2 separate regions of the Homo sapiens genome follow, and region 2 is linked to region 1. Evidence: promoter capture Hi-C in 16 types of primary human blood cells and fetal thymus (Javierre and others, 2016). All regions are on one chromosome and are shown on one strand. The core of a region is centred on a gene start or on the middle of the fragment in contact, and the rest is flanking DNA. Distances in the headings are between cores, read along the strand shown. Region 1 holds the start of BCL11A (BCL11 transcription factor A). Region 2 has its middle 500 kb from the start of MIR4432.

Region 1 (4,323 bases), core at 923-3,422:
ACAACAAACAACAAACCACATTGACACAATCCCAGTACAGCCCACATCTCTCTCAATGTTGAGCATCAAAACCTCCTTTTCTTCCTTAGAGGGGTCCGAAGCTCCGCCGAGCTAGGCAAGCCAGTCATTTTCTAACACAGTAGACTTGAAACTTTACTAAGACGAAACAGGAATAAACAGCCGCTTGCCGGCAGGGCTGCGGGATGGGTGAGCGCGTGCAAGCCCGGGGCCCTCGCTTAAAACAATAAAGCCCCCCCACCGGGTGGGTGAGTTTACGGAAGCGACACCCTTTAGACTGAAGAGGGGGATGAGAAGACGGGGGTTGTGGAACCGCTCCGAGGAGAGGGAAGGAGGGCTCCTCGCTCTGCAGACACACTCACACATATCCACCTGCAGCTCAGGGTCTCGCGGGCCATGGCGACCCGTCTCCACCCTGCACCCTCCGCACCTCCCTTGGACCTGAGTCCATTCTCCTCTCCCCCCAACTCCTTCCAGATTTGGAATCGGACTGCGATCTCCCCGGCGGCGGCGGCGGCGGCTGCAGAGTGGTGCTGGCAGGCAGGGAGGCTGGGAGGCGGGAGGCGCCAGGGGACTTTACAGGCACGTTTCTGAATAAACTTTCCAATCGCAGGGGGTGCTGTTGCTGTACATTTTACGTAAAACTGAAAGTATCCCACGCCAGAGTGAAGCCCGCTTTTTGACAGCGGCAGCACGCGCGTGTGTGTGCGTGTGTGCATTAAAGAGACAGGGTTTTATTTCCAACAGGTCTTCCCTAATTTCCAGGGAACGTCTGCAGAAAGGCGAGAGGGGGCTGCTGGCTCCTGGGTGTGCGCCTTGGCCGGCGGCGCCTGGGGAGCGCGGCGGTGACCCGAGGCGGTCATCTCACCACCGTGGTCTCCCCGCTGCTCCTGCGAGCCTGTCGCTCTCTCTCCATTCCCATTTTCTCTTTCCCTGGGTAACAGCACAGGAACAGTTGTGCTCTGCCCGTAAGAAACATTTTCTTCCCATCCCTCTGTGCTTTTGCAGTTGCTCTGGAGTGGGAGGGGGTGTGTCCCTCCCAGGGACCCGGCTCGGGGACCTCCCGCGGCGCCGTGAGCACATTCCCAGGGACTGGGACTCCCGGGACTGCCCGCGCTTTGTCCTCGGCCTCTCAGAGAGGTGGACGCCTCGGTGCCTCTCTTGCCCAGGCCCCCGGCGCTCCCCTCCGGGGGCCAGACTCTGGCTCCTCGTTCTTTATTCCTCGGGCTCTCTTTCTGCGACCCTTAGGAGCCGGGGACTCGGCGCTTTCAGTTGCATTCAGACCCAGTCGCTTGGCGGGGCGCTCAGATTCCCGGTCCCTGGCTCGGCCTTGGGGGCGCCCTCGGGCCCCGGCCTGCGCCGCCTGCCTCTCCCCGGTCCCCTCTTTCCAGGCCGCGCGGGCTCCTGGAGACTTGGGCGCTGCCCTTCCGGACCCGCAGCCCTCCAAACTTAGGCTGGATTCCGCGTTGCCGTGCGCTCCCTCCCACCTCCCCTCGCCCGCTGCGGAGCTGTAACTTGGAGGCTCAGCTCTCAACTTCGGGTGATTTTTCTTTGCTGTCCTCTCCTCGGGCAAAGTTTCCCGAGCGCAGCCGCGGGCTCGGGGCTTTTACTTCGGCCCCTGGCGTCCACACGCGGGGAGCGAGCGCGGCGGCGGCGGGGAGGGGAAGTGGGTGTGCGTACGGAGGAGGGTGTCCGGGAGCAACTCTACCTGGCTTCCCTCCGCCCGCGCTTCCCCAGCCCGGGGCTGCAGCCTCCCGGTGCACTCTCGCTCTATTTTTTTCTTTTTTGAATAATCTTTCATTTTAGAGTCCGCGTGTGTGGGGGGGAGCAGGGCGCACGTCTTGCTCCCCCCCACCCTTTCCTCCCACCCCTGCCACCCCTTTCTTCTCTCCCGGCCACGCCACCGCCGCGGCGCTCGCTGCGGCCACTGGTGAGCCCGCGGCCCCAGCGCCCCCTCCCCTCGGCCCGCCCCTCCCCCGGGGGCCGCGTCTGGCGTCCGCGGAGCCCCCCGCCCCGCACCTCCCCCTCCCCGCACTGGCCATTGGCTTGTCCTGGTCTCTTTTTCATGTCCAGCCCCTGATGTGTGTCCATTGGTGTGAGCTTCCCCTTCCCTCCTCCCCTTCTCTCCTGCTCGCCCTGCCCATGTTTTGTGTGTCTCTGTCCATCCAGACTCCTGACGTTCAAGTTCGCAGGGACGTCACGTCCGCACTTGAACTTGCAGCTCAGGGGGGCTTTTGCCATTTTTTTCATCTCTCTCTCTCTCTCTCCCTCTATCTCTCTTCTCTCTCTCTCCCTCTTTTTTTTTTTTTTTTTTTTTTTTTTTTTGCTTAAAAAAAAGCCATGACGGCTCTCCCACAATTCATCTTCCCTGCGCCATCTTTGTATTATTTCTAATTTATTTTGGATGTCAAAAGGCACTGATGAAGATATTTTCTCTGGAGTCTCCTTCTTTCTAACCCGGCTCTCCCGATGTGAACCGAGCCGTCGTCCGCCCGCCGCCGCCGCCGCCGCCGCCGCCGCCCGCCCCGCAGCCCACCATGTCTCGCCGCAAGCAAGGCAAACCCCAGCACTTAAGCAAACGGGAATTCTCGCGTAAGTAACCCAATAATAGTAATAATAATTATTAATAATCACGAGAGCGCGCAGGACTAGAAGCAAAAGCGAGGGGGAGAGAGGGGTGTGTGCATGCATTTTTAAATTTTTCACGAGAAAAACCTCCGAGAGTCGAGGTAAAAGAGATAAAGGGGGAAAAAACCCTCATCCCATCTGGAACCATTGCCGTGTATGCACTTTTGAGACAGCACGCACCTTTTAATTTTATTTAATTTTACAAAAATTTGACTCCTCCTCTTTCCTCCTTTCCGCCGCTTTATTTCTCTTTTCGAAAAGGAATGCAATGATTCCACTCCCCCCCCGCCCCGCCAGTTTTGCAAAATAATGAACAATGCTAAGGTTGCGAACAACTCACATGCAAACCTGGGGGTGGGAGCTGGTGGGGAAAGGGAGGTTGCTTCCCACTCACCGTAAGAAAATGGGGGGGTAGGGAGGGAGTGAGTACAAGTCTAAAAAACGATTCCCGGGGAGAAAAGAGGTGAGACTGGCTTTTGGACACCAGCGCGCTCACGGTCAAGTGTGCAGCGGGAGGAAAGTAGTCATCCCCACAATAGTGAGAAAGTGGCACTGTGGAAAGGGGCCCCCGGCGCTCCTGAGTCCGCGGAGTCGGGAGAGGGGCCGCGGCGACGGGGAGAGCCGTGGGACCGGGAAGGACGGGAGACGCGGCCGGCACTGCCGCCTTTTGTTCCGGCCAGAGGTGGGTGTTTGTCCCGCTGCCTTTTGTGCCGGCTCCTCGCGCTTGCCCTCCCGCGCCGCCGCCGCCGCCGCCGCCGAAGGGCAGGAGCTAGGGCCGGGGGAGGAGGCGGCCGGGGGCACGCGGGAGAGGGAGGGAGGGAGCCCGGACTGCTGCCTCCTGGGTTGCCGCTGCCCTCCCCTCCCGACCGAACCTCAGAGGCAGCAAGGAGAAGACTGGCACATAAATAAATAAATACATAAAAATAAAATAAATAAAACAAGGCAAGAGAATGTACAATTTCTTGCCCCCAAACCGAAGCCAAACGCTCTGCCAACCCTTTTCTGTGACGGCCTTCTCTTTGACTCCCCCACCAGCCCCCCTGCAAAAATCTCACAATCTCTCATCTAGAAAAAAATTTACAATCACCCTCTTCCCCCAAACCCCTTCAGTTGCAAACTTAGGGCGCCGACGGCACGGAGAGGGAGAGAGGAACTCCCTCCTCTTACTATTTTTTGGAAGATTTTCAAAAAAAGTGGAAGTGGATTTTGATTGGGAAAAATCTCGTGTCTGAATGTTTACAAGCACCGCGTGTGCGGGAGCCTCCTGCCAACAAACAGACAGAGGACCGAGCGCGGCGCGGCAGCCCCGGAGCAGGCGGCGGCGGCGGCCTGGCCTCGCCCGGGCCTTGCCCGACCTCGCCGCGCCCCAGCCCAGCCCCGGATCGCCCACCCGGCGCCCGGCGCCCACCCGCCAGGCACGGCGGCAGGCCACGCAGTGTCTCCGCGCCAGCCTGGCCCGTGGTCCTGGTCCGCCCCCAGCACAATGCCGAGACCTCTTCTCGACCTCCCAGACTGCGAAATCGGCTGGGTGAAACTCGGCTTTGCAAAGCATTTTTATTTTGCAGGGCAACTGTAAAAGCGCGTTCTGCGCCTCCCCTCCCCTCCGCCCTGGGTACTTTCTCAGACGTCTCTTGTCCACAGCTCGGGACCGCGAGGAGGTCACCACGTGCTTTCCCT
Region 2 (4,323 bases), core at 982-3,481, 670 kb after region 1:
AAGTGACAACTTCCTTTGAGAGAGTCTGTGTAAAAAGACTTTCAATCTTTCAAACAGGGCCAGCACTGTGGGGATATGAAGTAGGCGGCTGGCTTTCTGGCGTGTGATGTGTAGGATACACCAGGAGAGTGTGTCCCCCCACCCCACCCCAGAGTCTTCCCAATGGCTTGACATCTTGTCACATTATAGTTCTTTTTTGGATAAAGGCATTTCCAGAAGGCCCTTGTTAAAATGCTAATCTCTTACATTAAATCACAGATACATTGATGGGATGAATTTATCAGTGAAGGGGCTGGCCCTGGGGGACTGAAGACACACAAACATTTTGGTGGTGAGGAGGGGAGAGATGGGTGTCTCGGTGGGAGACACCCACCGAATCTCTAGGAGGCATTCAGCTGTGGGCCTGGGCAGGCCGTAGGGGGGTCTCTTGTTTCCTAAGGCTGTGGCTCAGAACATTCTTGGTGGCATGATAGTAGGAAGTGGCCAAAAATGTAAAACTTTATCTGTGTCAAGATTTTACTGAGTGCAGATCCCCTCCCTGACTAAAACTAATCATTAAAAGAGGTGGCTTCTCTGTTACTTTTAATGCTCATTTGCATTATGGCTTGCCGAAGATATCAATTTTCTCTTTTCTGAGAAGTGAAATATTATTCATCTGAAGCATTTTAAGGGGAGAATCGAAAGGAAGGTAGAATCGATAGGTTCAGCTTTGAGGTTGATTTTCTTTATTTCATCCTTGAGTTGGGAGTTTCAGTGATGTGAAAGAAAAAGATGGGGACAAATCTAACACAATGAAAATAATGTTTCCTTTTCAAAGCTTTATTTACAACAAAGTGAAAAGAAGATAAATGTTGTAAAATATAGATACTTTACAATTGTAATTTCTATTAATTTCTCACCTCAGTGAAGCTTGGGTGCCCAGAATGTGACAATCATGTTGTCATATGTGACCTTGCCATTGGGAAAATGTTTGTGGGTCCTCAAATTTCTTAAAGGGGGATGCCCTTAAATCAGGAAACTTTAACATTAAGAAATGACTCACTCATGTGAACTTCTTCAGAGGGATGTTGATTTTCTTTGAAAGTTGAAACCCTGGTTGTTGCAGCATGTGAAACATTTAATTTATCCAATGCCTCTGTGAATGCGTGGATGAAATTTCCCGGAGGGCTCCCCGTACTTATCATTTTTCCCTCTCAAGCACACACAGCCAAGGAAGTGGGCCAGCAGACACCCTGAACTTCCGCCAAACCGAGCTGCTCTGAGCCTCCCTCTCCTGGCCTGAGAACAAAAAACAAGCCCTCCTCCTTGCCTTTCCTTTAGAAGTGGAGGTGGGGTGTAGGGGTGAGAGGTGCTGCACGAGTGTTTAAAAGGTGGAGATCATTTGACTTGGTAAACTGTAGTTCCTTAAAGAGCAAAAAGAGGTTAGTATATGTCTGTGCCTTTGTCAAAAGCCAGTGAACTCATCTAGGGCCCACTGGAGGCTCGGTCGGGGGTCAGGAGGATCTCCTCTGTCCAGGCAGTGGGCACAGGACAGCGTCAGGTCTCGGCCCATCCTTGTCTCTCAGATGAGGGTGTGTGACCAGTTTCAGAGTCAGCAATGCAAGGACAACTTCCTGTTTCTTTCAGGCCAGATGAGTTTGAAGTTAAAATATCATTCCTTCACATTAATCCAAAAGTTAACACATTAATAAATATATTAATTAATGAAATCACCGTCTGTTTATTGAATATGAGTCATTGTGTTAAGTGCTAAAGGATGCAAAGATAAATGAGAAACAGTTATTGTCAAGGAACAGCAATAGAAAGACATGTACAAATAGCTAAAATATGAGGTATCATTTTGTTATAAAACATGATAAAATGTATAATACATATTGAATGTTATTATTACTTTTTATATTGGGCCTGATTTATTTCCGTATCCCCACATATAGCACAACTGTTTGATGTGGTGTATTTGCTCAATAAATAAATACTGATTAAATGTGAAAAATAGAAAGCATATAAACCAAATGCTTGGGTAGGGCTTTTCAAACTTGGACCGTATGAAAAGAACTGGGGAGCCCTTAAGAAATGCTGATCCAGGCCAGGTGCGGTGGCTCATGCCTGGAATGCCACCACTTTGGGAGCCTGAAGTGGGTGGATCACCTGAGGCCAGGAGTTTGAGACCAGCCTGGGCAACACGGTGAAACCTTGTCTCTACTAAAATTACAAAAATTAGCCCAGCATGGTGGTGCATGCCTGTAATCCCAGCTACTTGAGAGGCTGAGGTAGGAGAATTGCTTGAACTCAGGAGGTGGAGGTTTCAGTGAGCTGAGATTGCGCCACTGCACTCCAACCTGGGCAATAGAGCAACACTCTGCCTCTGAAAAAAAAAAAAAAAAAAAAAAAAGCTGACTCCCCGAGGTTTCCTTCCCAGGCATTCTGATTTAATTGGAATAGAAAATCAGCACTGGGAGGTGCTGCACCAGGGGACCTCATGAGGGACCTGGGAACTGTGCTTGGAGAGAAAATGGAGGTTGCTTCATAGAGGAGGTCATGTTTGAGCCTGAAGGTTGGGTATGAGGTAGGCAGGTTTTGATGGGGCTGGGGGCCAAGAAAATGGCATCCTTAGTAGAGGAAACAACACGGGGAAGGGCACAGGCTGGAAAGTGCACAGTATGTTCTGGATGAGTCAGAGCCTGGAGTGGCCCTACCATCTGCTGTCTGAGAAGGTGTATTGGGAAAAAAGAAGAGGCTGAAGCAATAGGTTGGGGTTAGATTGTGGAGGGACTAGTATGCTTCTCCAAAAACTTTGAATTTATTTTACACATCCTGGGGAACGACTGGGGGTTTGGAAGTTGGCAAGTGGTATGGTCAGATCTTTGTTTTAGGAAAGCACTGTGAAAAATGAACTGGATGTAGGGAGAACTGGAAAAAAGGAGTCCAATTTGGAAGCTATGGCTTATGATAGAATAGATGAGGGAGGAGGCAAATTTGAACTAGACCAATTTGGATGGGAGTGTAGAGGAGAGAGTGGATTTGGGAGACATTTATGAGAGATCACCTTCAATAGATGTGTTGGATAATTGTATAGTGAGGTTAAAGTCCAGGGTGCAGGGAGTGAACCCAGAAAGAATACAAGATGGGGAGCAAGTTCTGAAACAGGCAATAGTGTGGGCAGGAGAACAATATAGAGAGGCCTAGAGGAACTTTGGTAATACTCCTTCTGAAGTCATGAACCCTATCTCTCATTGCTTAGGTCCTTGTTTTTGGTTTTCCTTTCAGCCCCATCATAAAACAAGTACACATTTTGTTTAACAGCATATATGAAATGCTAGCTCTCTAGTTTTGATCACCAGAGCTGCTGTTTAACTCACAGCTTCTAGAAGCAGGCCATTTGCAGCTCTTACACCTTCCTGAAAAAATGAAGGTTTTGAATAAAAGCCAGTCATAGAATTAAGTCAGGACAAAGTGGTGTCGGGGTGAAATTCAAAAGACAATACGTAATAATTGGTTTTAGAACAGGAGCCAGATGAATCATAAGGTCAGACATATGAAAGGAAAAAGCTTTCTCCAGAAGACTTGGGGGCTAAGGCTACAAAGGGCTGTTTGAAAACAAAGTGGCAGGGATTGTGGTAGGGCCTCCAAGTGAGACCTGCTCTCGGGAACCTGCTCTCCATTCCAATATGTCTGAAAACACTCGGTGAGAAGAAATAGATCTGTCTCTTCCAACTTTTTATAGCTTCCGTAGAAAGCTATTTCCACTGTGTCTGTAGTCATTGCTTTGTTTCCTCCAGACCATCCACTGGTCAGAGAGAAGGAAGACAGGGTCAGAATGTCAATGTGTCTACTGGAAACCACTGGTCACTGTGGGACCTAAGTGTGGGGTCTCAGAGCTGAGAGGGAATGAACCCTTGTCTAGCACTCCAGCTCCACAGTTGGGCACAGAGCCAGAATGTGTAGGGGCTTGCTCGGAATCTGGTGGCTCAGTAGCAGTGTGGTCAGAAGGAGAACCAAGGCCTCCTGGCTTCCAGAGCTGCTCCACCCACAGGCTGCCCCAGGACTCTGCATGACCCTGGGGTTGTGCCACATGCTTACCAGTGACAGCGAGTGCAGGATGAGGAGTAAGATGAATCCTACCCACTCAAAAACTTTTTTTTGTTGATTCACTCTTGTTTTCACAAACTGCTAGCATTCACTCTTTTTTACTGTTGGCCTGAAGTGCAGATTTCAGATGGCCTTTTGAAACTGGTGTGAATTTCCCACACCAGTTTCAAAATGTGATTTTTCCCACAAGAAACATATGTACAGTTATTGCTCTGCCTTGAGTTTCCCCTAGTA

What was found. The method cuts DNA at HindIII sites, captures the fragments that hold promoters and counts their contacts. A CHiCAGO score of 5 or more calls a contact.
Region 2: a contact is called between a fragment that was not itself captured here and the fragment with the promoter of BCL11A in region 1, in 1 of 17 cell types (fetal thymus). The highest score is 6.5, in fetal thymus.

The regions. Positions count from the first base shown.
Region 1 is chr2:60,551,503-60,555,825 of GRCh38, reverse strand. It overlaps BCL11A (BCL11 transcription factor A), which reads left to right and starts at 2,172. Exons shown (of 4, transcript NM_022893.4): 1 at 2,172-2,610. The coding sequence starts at 2,556. RefSeq lists enhancers at 1-288, 863-912 and silencers at 533-662, 1,603-1,692, 3,102-3,461, 3,982-4,041, 4,102-4,323. The HindIII fragment of the contact is 6,342 bases long and covers 1-4,323 here.
Region 2 is chr2:59,882,686-59,887,008 of GRCh38, reverse strand. No RefSeq gene overlaps it. Among named protein-coding and RNA genes, the nearest start is that of MIR4432, 500 kb to the left of the region's middle. The HindIII fragment of the contact is 2,640 bases long and covers 912-3,551 here.